Linked DNA regions of Homo sapiens: region 1 is linked to region 2. Evidence: promoter capture Hi-C in 16 types of primary human blood cells and fetal thymus (Javierre and others, 2016). All regions are on one chromosome and are shown on one strand. The core of a region is centred on a gene start or on the middle of the fragment in contact, and the rest is flanking DNA. Distances in the headings are between cores, read along the strand shown. Region 1 holds the start of STMN2 (stathmin 2). Region 2 holds the start of IL7 (interleukin 7).

What was found. Contacts are between HindIII fragments. The CHiCAGO score rates a contact against its expected background, and 5 or more counts as called.
Region 1: a contact is called between a fragment that was not itself captured here and the fragment with the promoter of IL7 in region 2, in 1 of 17 cell types (M1 macrophages). The highest score is 6.5, in M1 macrophages.

Annotation. Positions count from the first base shown.
Region 1 is chr8:79,605,516-79,611,946 of GRCh38, forward strand. It overlaps STMN2 (stathmin 2), which reads left to right and starts at 5,602. Exons shown (of 5, transcript NM_007029.4): 1 at 5,602-5,699. The coding sequence starts at 5,681. The HindIII fragment of the contact is 2,136 bases long and covers 3,070-5,205 here.
Region 2 is chr8:78,802,642-78,809,417 of GRCh38, forward strand. IL7 (interleukin 7) reads right to left here and starts at 2,822. Exons shown (of 6, transcript NM_000880.4): 1 at 2,272-2,822. The coding sequence starts at 2,281. It overlaps MITA1 (metabolism induced tumor activator 1), which reads left to right and starts at 1,831. Exons shown (of 3, transcript XR_002956715.2): 1 at 1,831-3,054. The HindIII fragment of the contact is 3,968 bases long and covers 824-4,791 here.

The DNA of each region.
Region 1 (6,431 bases), core at 2,888-5,387, 800 kb after region 2:
ACTACAAAGAGTGAATTTAAATGATTGTCGTGACTTCCTTTTAAAGTTTTCAGCAAAGATGAAAAAGGAAAAAGAAACAGAAGCAATAAAGTTTTGGTAATTTCTTAACTTGACTAATACAAGTTCATTATTTGCTTTCTTGTGTCCATTTGAAATAGTTTATGACAAAAATATAAGTACAATATTTTTATATTTTGATGTAAATATTCAAGCTATTGAAATCCTCTTTCCAAAAGAGGACGTTTCCTGCGCATTCTAAATAAACCCAAATAACACATCTGCAAATCTCTGGGCAATTTCTTTTCTGCCTCAAAAGGCAGCATTTGCCGCCTAACTGCACATTGCTCTGTTTTTGCTGAACTGAACTAAAAAGATAGGTGTAGTTCAGGAAGTGATCAAACCAAAAACAGAAAAATCCATTAAATATGTGACGAGAGGAAAAAAAAGAGTGGAATGGGGTTTTGTTGTCTCTAGTTGAGTTCAAGTTTAATGTGTTTTTTTTCTTTTTTTTTTTTTTTTTTTTTTTTTTTGGAAACGGAGTCTCGCTCTGTCGCCCAGGCTGGAGTGCAGTGGCATGATCTCGGCTCACTGCAAGCTCCGCCTCCCGGGTTCAAGCCATTCTCCTGCCTCAGCTTCTGGAGTAGCTGGGACTACAGGAGCCTGCCACTATGCCCGGCTAATTTTTTCTATTTTTTAGTAGAGACGGGGTTTCACCATGTTAGCCAGGATGGTCTCGATCTCCTGACCTCGTGATCCACCCGCCTCGGCCTCCCAAAGTGCTGGGATTACAGGCGTGAGCCACCGCACCCGGCCGAGTTCAAGTCTAATGTTACTGTCAAAGTAAATATTTGATGAAATTGATTTTTAAAAATACTACCTACATCCGTTAATTCAATTCCATTTGATAACACAGCAGGATGTGGGTGGGGGAAGTTCAGAGGGTCAGAAAATTAGTTAATAAATGACTAATGAGAAAATCTCCCAGGAAGGCAGTATACTAAAATGCTTTTGCTTTTCTCTTCCCTAAATCCTCCTCCTCCTCTTTTCAGCTTGATTTAGAAAAATAAGGTTCTTAGGCAACTGTTATTGTATGTATAATGCAATGCTCACAGTAGGGGTTCTGTTTAAAAAATAAAATAAATTGAGGCTTGTGGGATAAACAGAGTGAGTCACACTTCTCCCAGATTTCTCTTCCAGGCACTTCAGTGTTGTCTCCACTGTTTGGTTTGTAAACTAAGATGCTGAGTGAAATCTCAAGGGGAACCAACTTCCCAGCTTCAATGGTGTCCAACTAATGTTCTCCCTGGACTCAAGCTGTAAATCAACTCATGGAGAGAAGGAAAAAGTTAGTTACAGTAATTGCTGCCAAGATAGCGAGTAGTTTTCAACATTATCAATTTAATGTAAAGATTCAGCTCATTAAATTTATATCAAGCCTTTCTTATGATTAGAACAAGTTTATTTCCAGAAAAGTTCAATTATAAAACTATCAATAGGATTTACTAATTTCAATAAGTCATTTTGCTTCAGGGTGAATTATACTAATTATTAATACATACAAGTCCCATTTGGACATAAAGAAAACCCTAGGTAGAGAAAAAATAATAATAATTAACTAATCATTGTTTATTTTTAAATAACTAATTTAAGAAGAAAACAATGAAGTGTGTTTGTTCCACACTTCAGAAATAACTCTAACACACTGGCAAATTCCTGAGCAATACAGAGCTCACTGCTAATAAAGAACACCAACTCTCCCTCCTTGGAATGACTTTCCTTTTGAATAAACCATATTAGACAGTTCTATTAAAGGACACATGATCCTTTTTATTTTTCATTAATCTATAAGAATTTAAACATGGCAAAATAATCAAAATGTTAAAAAGTCAACTATTTTTTCATGTGTGATTATTTTAGATGCATCTCTAAATATCTTCAGCTATAACTACTTTATATCCTAAATTTCTAAACATCTAAAAAAATTCAATGGATTTTATCTCTCACATTTCTTTTGTAATCACCTGAGGTCAGATCAAAACAATTAATTTGACCTTAACAATGTTTCTCTTATCTCACTAACTTTTAATAATTACTTTAGGATTCTTTCCCAGGCACTTGATTATGAATAGCAGAAAATCATATGACTGTGTTAGATGGCATCAGCTAATCCTCCAAAGCAACTGCTTCTCTCTGGTTTGGAAAGAAATCAACACCTCAGGCCTCCTCACAGAGATAATACACACTAGGCTATAACCCACAATAATTAAAATTTCTGTTAGCAAGTCTGTGATTTCCACAGCTCCAGCTTACTGCTGGCTGTTAAAGATAACAAAAATTAACAAGGGCCATCTACTATTGTGAGCTCTACTCATTTAGGTTCTTTGGGAATAGGGCAGGATATAAATAAATAAACACTGGTAAACAGCCTAATACCTGCTCCCAACACAAGCTAAGCAAAGGAGGTTAGAAGTGTCAATATGGTCTCACTGGATTCATCCATTTTGAATCATTTTCAACACTGTATTATTTATTATTTCACAAATTGTTTTTAACTGTCTACCACGTGAATCATGAAACCAACCACTAGGAAGGGTATAAAGATATACACTATTCATTCTCTACCTTTCAAAGGTTTAAATGTATTGGAAACACTAAATATAGTCATAGTACTTAAAATTACTATATATCCATGATGGCTTAGACAGTTCATACATGATAACCCTTCAGTCTACCCAAATCCCCACACGACAGATACTGGTTGTCCTTAGTTTATACTGTGCAAATGTAGTACCTATTCTTTGAGTGTCCACCCATTCCCATCAAAACCATTTCCTTCAGGAAAAGCTGATCTCACCTCCAGACCTCTAGGGCCAACTCTATCTATATGGTTAGACGAAACAGCAAATGCACTTTTATTATTAGTGCCAGTTTGGGTTATTTTTTCAAATTTTTGCAACAAAGTGTGATCCACAATACACAAGATCATATTCACTCCCCCAAATTAATATTTTCTTAAAGAGATGGGTGTTATATTTTCCTTCACTTTCTATTTTTCAGACATTAAGGAGAAGCTTGGCTGGCATCACAAAAGCCTGAAACATCATCAAATAAATATTTGTTGAATAAATTAGCTGAACAAATGAATAAGTGAATAACATATTGAATATGAAATAATTTTTCTGTTCATATTTCACCCTTACTTTCCCATGTGAATATGCATGATACCATATTGTAATGATAAAAGAAAACAAAAAACAATTTGATAATGGCACAGCCCTTTGAATTTATTTGTGTTTTCTTAGCTGATTGACAATTTTGCCTACTATCTTTTTATTCTATGGTAAATCATATTGACCTACTCTCTTCCCTGTTTGACATTATTTAAAAATCATTCATAACTGAAGTTAGGTGGCTAACACCTAGAAAATCGGAAATAGAAAAGAGTCACATATGTGACCCTTAGGGCAGTAGAATGAGTGTTTTGTTTTCCTCATAGTCATCAAAAGTGCAATCGATTTCATTCAGCAGCCAACTGCAGTTGTTAAAGAAACTAATGCCATGACTTAGGGCCCTTGTTCTCCAAGGAAGCTGAAGAATGTGTAGAGATGACACACAGCCTGAGGGGAAAGGGTGTGGTGGGGAGAAGAGAAATACTTTGAAAATATTAGTCACACAGACATGCTGAAGATCCTTCACCTCATGAGTGATAACTACTCCAGTGAGAGGTGATTAACTGTTACATTTAAAGTGGGAAATGCCTATATATAGAGAGAAAATGGTTATTTATTTCCAGACCCTGCCAACTTCCATATTGCTCTCTTGCTGTGTCATAGTCACAGACCTGTTCAAAGATAGGAAATATAATTTCTAATCTTCCTGTTCAAGAAATAATTTTATTGATCTCCACTTCATCTTTTATTTTCCCCATGATTCAGCAGGTCAAAACTGTTCCAGTTCCAGTAGCATCCTATCAGTCAGCAAAATGTCCATGAGGTTAAAATGTCTTACAAGTTAATAGGAGGTGAAGAAATTCATTTCAGCACCAAGGAGAGTGCCCTGCTATTTTCAATTGGTTTTATGTATTTGAAACTGTGTATTGTTCCTGAGGATAGAAAAAAAAGTTGAAATGTGATTGGACAGAAAGCTGCTAAAAACCTATTTTAATAAGAAGAAAAAAATACATTCATTTTTCTGAAATTAAAAACTTGCCAGGGTTTCATACCTGTTCATGATTGCAACAATGTGCTCTTCTTTTGGCTTTCAAACGTCGGAATTAGCAATTCTTTGCCTATTTTTCTAATATTAAAACCAGTTTCTGCATGGAATTAGACTGGCTCAATAAAGTTACAGAAGAGTTAAATTAGCAGTAATTAAAAACTTCATGCAGCAACTCCTAAACTTTTTCTCACCATTTTCAGAGCTGTGCACATGGTAAATGCTCAATACATATTTAAGTCAAGTGAAAGAGAACAAATGAATGACTGGCATCCATTAAGTGAGAAGGAGGAACTAATAAATGCCTTGTTTGTAATGAAAGTCATTTTTTGCAACTAGTCTCAAAGATCCTCACATACGACATTGCTCAATCCGAAACTTGAACACAGCCTTCCTGGGCCTACATAAACGTAGTCTCTCTGGATCTCAGAAAAATAATGACCCAGACCACACCTTTCATCTCTTCTAAGTTTTCCATGTAAAGCATTCTCCTTAGAGCCCTGGAAAGGTTACTAAAATTTTGACCCACTTAATCCTACACCTTCAGGGCAACATGGCATTCACCTGTGGTTTCCTTAATGCCCAAACCAGCCAGCCAACCTGTTTTCTGCCGTGTTAACAAATGGACAGGACACAGGCACCAGAGGTTAAACTTTCTTCCTCTTCCCCCATGTCCCCAGGTGGACCATTATTACCATCCCTATTCCCAAGCAACCAGGTAGCCCCTTCCTCTGTGCCAAGGGAAGAAAACACCATGCTTCCCTCTCCTGAGAGACCTTCAAGAGTTTAGAGACGCCTAAGTCCAGCTGTGCTAAAAGATAAAGGACAATAATGCAAGTCTGCTCTGAGCTGCCACCATAGCCAGACATAGGGTAGCCCTGAAAGACTAGAACCAAGGACAGAGCCAAAGGTGAAAGAAAATATGAAAAAGTGAAAACACAGTATTTAAACAGAATTTTCCAACAGCCTGCATATAGTGAGGACTTCTCAAGCTTCTGAATCCTTTTCCATTGAATTGTGCAATGGCACATGTATGAGCAAAGTCAAGCCTCCTGGCTCCCAGGTAGGCACAGCCCAGTTCTTAGCTCCTAGGAAGCTTCAGGGCTTAAAGCTCCACTCTACTTGGACTGTACTATCAGGCCCCCAAAATGGGGGGAGCCGACAGGGAAGGACTGATTTCCATTTCAAACTGCATTCTGGTACTTTGTACTCCAGCACCATTGGCCGATCAATATTTAATGCTTGGAGATTCTGACTCTGCGGGAGTCATGTCAGGGGACCTTGGGAGCCAATCTGCTTGAGCTTCTGAGTGATAATTATTCATGGGCTCCTGCCTCTTGCTCTTTCTCTAGCACGGTCCCACTCTGCAGACTCAGTGCCTTATTCAGTCTTCTCTCTCGCTCTCTCCGCTGCTGTAGCCGGACCCTTTGCCTTCGCCACTGCTCAGCGTCTGCACATCCCTACAATGGCTAAAACAGCAATGGGTAAGGCACTGCGCCTCGTTCTCCGTCGGCTCTACCTGGAGCCCACCTCTCACCTCCTCTCTTGAGCTCTAGAAGCATTCAGAGATATTTTATAAAGAAAAAGATGTTAATGGTAACACAGGACCAGGAAGGACAGGGCAGTTCTGGGGGAGGTGGGAGGGCAGAGAAGAGGTCTATGGAAATCTAAAGCGAAGAATTTCTTTTAAAAGGTAGAAGCGGGTAAGTTGCCCTCCTATGGGTAGAGAATTTATTCTGTTTCCATATTTAAAATTAGGACTCAATCGTGAGGGGAGGAAGCTACCTTAACTGTTTGCCTTAAATGGGCTTAAGGGACATTTTGGAAAGTGCTTTATAACGACCTTTTTTTTTTTTATTTCTTCTCTAGTTTAAGAAGAAAATAGGAAAGGGGTAAAGGGAAGGTGGGAGAAAGGAAAAAGAAAATTGCAAAGTCAAAGCGGTCCCATCCCGCTGTTTGAAAGATGGGTGGAGACGGGGGGAGGGGATGGAGAGAACTGGGCACATTTTACGGTATTGTCTCGTCGAAGAAACCGCTAGTCCTGGGGTGCGGTGCAGGGAGGTAAGACGGCGGGGGACAGGGTGGGGGTAGGACCTCCGCTCCTTTGTTTTAGGGCAAGGGAGGGGAAGGAGAGAGGAAGTCGCGGAGGGCGTGGAGGGCGCGGGTGGGCAGCTGCAGGGGCGGGGAAGCGCGCGGCAGGGAGGGGTGGAGGGACA
Region 2 (6,776 bases), core at 1,572-4,071:
AGCCTGGTCTCGAACTCCTGACCTAAGGTGATCTGCCCACCTCAGCCTCCCCAAGTGTTGGGATTACAGGCTTGAGCCACCATGCCTAGTCAGAAAATTCCTGTACATAATATAGATATGGAATTCAAATCCAAGACTGTCACATTGAAGAGTCTAGAACCTCAGCTTTTAGGCACTGAACTACATTGCTTCCTTAAAAAATAACCATATATGTGTAGTCAAGGGGATTGCATAAAAACCCATCTTCCTGTGCATGAACCTCACTAAGGTACTTCCTGGCCAAACTGTGAAACTGCATCATATGCTTTTATTTCAGAAAAAGAGACTAAATATTTGTTCTTGTTACAGTAGGTTATGTGTCAGGGTTAAAAGCAGAAAAAAAAGTCACATAGATGAGTGTGAATATGACACGTAAGTTCGTTCTATGAAATGGCCTTTTCCATTTTTTAAAAAAATATTCAAACACTAACGTGATGCAGTTTGTAATTCTCCTTTATGCTTGTTCAGGGTTTCTAATATTAGTTCTCTATTATTATTTTTTGAGACAGGGCATCACTCTGTTGCCTAGGCTGGAGGACAGTGGTAAGATCATGGCTCACGGCAGCCTTGACTTCCAGGCTCAAGCAATCCTCCTGCCTCAGCCTCCCGAGTAGAGTCTATTTTTATTGCTATTCAACTTTTTGGTCCTCAAATATGATGAAATTACCCAAACCAGATAAGACAGTTGGAGACCACATAGTAGATCCTCAACTACTTCAACTCTCAAAAGAAATGGCAAAGACAAAGGGTAAAGAGTAACATTATGTGCACTCTTAATGGAACAAGCTTCTAGTGAAATTTCTTGAAACAAACTTCAGGAAGCCATGCATTATAATCATTATTATTAGAATTTTAATATTTTGTCTGCTAATGAAAACTTATAGCCCATGATTCATATAACTGTGCTTCAGGAAGTAAAGGCTTTTTCTGAAAAATGCACACGCTAGCTTCCTTTTCTCAGTTTACCTTTCTACTTTAGAGCAGAGGTGTTGCAAGGATTAGAACCAAGGGTGATCCAGAAGAAGAAACTGCAGAACTATGGGCATTGCAAGGAAAATAGGGTTGTGCTCAATTTTTAGTTTTGTATTAAGCTCCGGGAGGACATTCCTTAGAAGTCCTCCATAATTACGTTGGCTATTCTTTCCGCTCTCTCTATCTTTGTTTTGTTACTGAGCTGGCACTCCTTGGTTGTGTCAATTCTTGATTCTTTACCCACGAGAGTGGAAAGAAGTCTTGATCTAACGGAGTAGCCATCAAAAGAAAGAGCAGTCAGTTTCCTATTCCCGCACCCTCCCCCCAGCTGTCTTCTTGCTTGAGGAAGTACTTACTGTAAAGCATTCCAATTTTCCTAAGCAGATCTTTTCCCCTCACAATCCTTTTTCCTCTTTTTTAATTCCAGTAAGTTTTTTGGCTCTTTCATTGGTCATATATGACTGCCATCCGAATCCAACCCTCCTGAATTCTGTCCCTGTCCATTCTAAATCCGTATTCTGCACAAATAAGATATATTAGGTCTCAATACTGGTCTGGAAGTTAGAGTCACGCCTATTTCATTCTGCCTCCATCAAGAAGCGCCCGTAGGAAAAAATAACAACAAAAACAAAAACAAAAACAAAAAAACCCAGAAGCTGGCCTTCCTCAGCGCCAGCCCCAGGACTGGTTTCCCAGCAATAGGCGCAAGGTACAGCCCTTGCCGGAAACTCCCAGTCTTACTCAGGGGGGAAAAATGGGGTTTTCCGGAGACCTGTTCCCCTAGGGTTTAAAAGCGCGTCCCGTGGGAGCTTCGCTTTCACTTCTCTAGGGAGTTCTGAGCTGCAAGAGCCCAGCTACTCGCCGAACCCGGGCCGCCTGCGTGAGTAACTTGGGGCGGCCAGGAGCACGGGAAGGGCGCCAGACAGAGAGCCTTTGGCTGCTTCTGAGACCGGCTGTGGGCTGCCACCGCTGAGCGGCGCGGAGGCTGCAGCGTTCCCTCTCAGGACAGAAAGCAGGCGTTGGGGACTGTTACTCGCAGCCTGCCAGGGGCAGCAGCCGCCCCAGGTTCAAGTGGCTATGTGCCAGGATACTCAGGCGCGGCTGTTGGCTGCCCATGGGAGAGCCAGTGCTCTCCGCAGGTCCAAAGTGCAAGGCCGGGCTATTCCCGGACTTGCCTAGGAGCAGGGGCCCCCAGCGCGTCTGGGATTGCCCCGGCGCGTCGGGCGCGCGAACTTGTGCGCAAGGGAGAAGAGCGCTTACCATGGAACATGGTCTGCGGGAGGCGGGCGTAGTCATGATGACCGCAACTGGAGCAGGAGCAAGCTCTCACCGCCCATAGTCACTCCCAGGACCCTGGTCTTCCGCGGAGTTGCCGAGTCTGTGTTGGGCAGGGTGATCTCTGCAGCTGGTTCCTCTTACCCACGCCGCGACTGCAGTTTCATCCATCCCAAGGGGGGCGGCACACACTACGGCGTGGCTCTGCGCTTTGCCTTTTCCATAACTTCCGTAGGATCCGCCAGCAGTGTACTTTCAGTTTCTACTTTGCGCTTGGTCTGCAGGTTCAATCTTTGGGATCATCAGCATGGAATCTTCATTATCCCCTCTCTCCTGGGCACCTGCTTCCCGCGCACCTGGATGAGGACCAGAGGAATTCGCGAATTTCCGAATCACCGCAGGAAAAACCAGCTGGCCTGAATCAAAGCAATTCTGGGTAAAAGACTTCCCAGATGATCTCTCAACGCCTTGGCAACGCTTGGCGACTGGGAGCTAGAACCATGAGTTGTTAATGTGTGCACGGAAGCCACAAGTGTGCAGGACGCAAGCTGGGTTATTGGAAGCGGACGACACCAAGGAGGCGTTGCCGCGGATGTGGTGGACGATGCCAAGTCGTCTTTTAAAAAAGGAAGTGAAGAATGATTAAGAGGGTCACGCCCTCTACCACTCCAACCTCTCTAATCAGTCTCTTTCTGCTCCGTCTGCTGTACATGCACCTGCTCAGGTGAGACCTCAAGGAAAAATAATCCTGTGGGTCCACCTAATCTGGTAAGTGTTGTATTTGGAAAATCAAACCCCAAATTAAACGCAGGACGTGGAAACTGACGATAATATTTAACTATGACTTCCACGTGCACATTTATCTGAATTGGCTAATAAATCAAACTATTCGTCTTGAATGCATGCCACTGAAATGTTAACTTTTTCCTGGGCTTGAATTATGTAGCTTATTTGCTACATTAGTTTGGTTTCTGCTATTCTGCAGAAACCCTGCTTAGATGAAGGTGGATAATGTAAACCAGTAACAACAGCGATAATAATAACGACTATCATTTATCTAGCATTTGCTCTCTGCCAGTTTTGTGCTAAGCATTTTATGTATATCATCTCATGCAAAACTTTGTGTGAGGTAGACCATTTTCTTATCTGCACTTTACAGATGTGGGGACTGAGACTTCCTTAAGTAACTTTCCAAATTTCACTTAGCTAACTGAGCTTAGACACAGACTTGCTGCATTTGGGCTGTAGAAACTCCTGCTTGGAACTCCTGTGAATAAAGTAATAATGTGCACACTGATGCCGGGAGGGAGATGACAGTACGTGTGTGGCTTTGCCCCAGTGTGGGGACTTCAGGAAAGTTTCCTGGAGTCTGTGACTTCTAAACTGACACTTGAAGAGGAATGAACTTGGGGCTGGTAAGGAGTATGTCACATTCTGCTATAGCGTGAACAAGGAAGAGGAGGGAAGGAGAAAGGAAAAAAAAGGATGGCAATGAACTAGGGAGAACAGAGTTGCTCAAGCCTGAAACTTGGGTCTCTGATTCCTTTTTTGGTCTCATTTCCCACATCAAATCCATAGACAAGTCCTGTCTGCCCCACCTCCAAAATTAACCCTAAGGTGACTATAGAGACTGTCTAAGGGATCTTCCAGCTTTCACTTTTGCCCACAACCCCTTCATTCTTCTCAGAGCAGCAGGATATCTGATTCTATTTTGTGCCCCACCTTCTGGTCACTTCCCACTGGGTACCAGGCCCTCAGTGCCCTGGTGATCTGGGCCCCACTGCCCTCTCTGACGTTTCGTGGTACCACATCACTATCCTCCAGCCACAATGGCCTTTCTCTTCCTGCCCAGCGTCCACTTACTATGGTCTTTAGCCCATGGCTGGCATTCAGTAAGTACTGGGGGGTGACAGAGTAAGAGAGAACAGGTGAGTGGGAATGCATCAGTGAATATGTGTGAAAGAGAAAGTTCATGAAAGCAGAAGGAAATAGAATGAAAGAGGAAGCGAAGGGGGTAAGCAAATGGAAAAGAGAGACAGAATGGAGTGAGAAAAGCCACATATTTCCATTTGACTGGAACCTAGAGTGGGAGGTGGGGAGGAGGACAGACATGACACTGGAGTGAGTTTTAAAAATGATTTCTATAATGAAACACGCCTAGGTTGGGGATTTATTTATTTATTTATTTATTTATTTATTTATTTATTTATTTTAAATCCCTGACAGCAGCATTGAAGTATGTAACTGTTCATAGCCTGCACCTTTTTCTTTTTTTAACTTTCCAGGAACAAAGTAAAAGAGCATCCATCAATACTTTGCACAAAAGGAAATCCGTCTTCCTTTTATCACAATCACCATAAATCCAGGTAGAATAAGGGTTGTACATATCTGAACTTTTGGGAAGCATGAAAGGAAGTTATTCAGAGCTGCAGGAAAGGCAATGTAAATGTTACACTGGATTCTGCCCCCAACTATAAAGAATCTTTCTGAAGAGAATATTCATAAAGCTTTGGGAATTGTTAGGGTTATATGAAATGGGCACATTCTAACAACATCAAGTAATGATTTTTTTTTTCTGTCTGTGAGATAATTAATACCATTTAGAAAAAAATCCAAAATGAAGTCTTAAATTAGCTTTTGATATTTTGATAAACTGAATATTATTTTTTATAAGATAGATGGACAAGAATAAAATGTTTATAAATTTTTAAAATGCTAATGTTTTATGATTAAAGAAATGGAATGGTTACTATTATGTTTGCTCATAGACTCAATGAACTGGACAGAAAAGCCTTTAAGGGAGAAAATAGTAAATACATTTTATGAATTATGGTAAATAAATTTTAAAAGAGAAGACAACATTCTCAGAATGATCAATATAATGTATTAGAAGAAGTTCAAATAAAATTATATGATGTCAATTTAAAGAGAAAATTATTGAACATTAACCAATATCTTTTAATGTTCTACAGTCTTCAGTCAGAATAGTCAATTATTGTAAACCAGAAAATATTTTTTGATTAATATCTGAACTATTTTTACCCAACTTAATATGACTACTTTTTGTAGTCTGTGATATGAATTCTATCTATCATTCTATCTATGGGTAGTATGAAGTTCTTTTTATTTAACTTTCCAGTAATAACATTCAACATATTTAAAACACACACACAGCGCCACACAGCCAACATTATGGATATATGATCTGTGTAATTGGCACAGGGCCTTGTACTTCATTTGATGCTCTGCTGTCACTGTATTGAAATTCCTCATTTTTAGATAAAGGGACTCTTATTTTCATTTTGCACTGGGTTTCAAAATTCTATAATGGTCATGCACACTCACACATGTTAAGTTACACATTGTGGATAGCAGTGTATGTCTTTGAGGTGATTTCAGTTTGGTGGGAAAAACAGATGTTAAATATCTAATTTCAAAGATGAAAAATATCATTAAAAGAGAAACATGATATATTATTTGAATCAGAAGTTTAAAGTAGTATAGGCCCATTTTCATAGTTAAATGAGGATCAATAAAGGTTAATTTATCTGTCCAATAAACAAGCAGCTATGAGAGGATGACCTGTAATTTGATAAAATTTAAATTTTACCAAATGACTAATGAGCGTCTATTTACATGGTCATGGTTTTTTTGCTGAATTCCTAAATAAACCATAAATTTAACATAATGCAACGTTCAAATTGGTAATATTTAACCTAGAATTTTACAGTTATAGTCATAATTGGGTTATGTTTATTTTTAATTTTATATTCAACTGATACTGGGCTAGTTTTGTCCAGTTATGCTAGTTTCATAAAATAAATTGGAAATTCTATTGTTTTCTAAAACTGTCAACTGTTAAACATGTGAACTATTTGTTTCTGGCAGACTTACTAGAGTTCAACAATAAAACTTACTTGATTCCGTGGATGAAGCCCAGGAATAGGACGAGACTGTCAGTTTTGAGCATTACAAGTGAGAAAATGAAGAAGGGTTTATTTTGAAGGCTGAATCAAAATAGCCATGTCAGACTGTCAGAACTTTGCTGGAGATGGGTATGTTAGCATATCAGTGATGGCCAGAGCCATGGAAATGAATGCAATTACTCAACCTGCATGTTAGAAGACAGAAGAGAGAACTAATGCTAGCAGGAATCTTGAGGCATGAGCAACCCTAAAAAGTAGCTGGAGAAAGGGGTGCCCATCAACAAAACAGACGAATACATAGTAGGCAGCAAAGTGGGAAAGTCAGAAGTCAGTGTCTCAGAAGGCAACGGAAAATAGAATTTCAAGATAGAGTAAGTAGCCAGTATTTCCAAATGTCACAAAGAGGTTGAATAAGATAGAGACTGAAAAGTGTGTCTATTAAATTTGGCAGAGCAGAGATTGTCCATGATCCTCATGGCAACAGTTTGAGAAGAGCAGTGTAGATGCAAATAATATACTAGCTTGCAGGGGTTGAGAGAAGAAAGAAATAAAGTAAGAGAATAT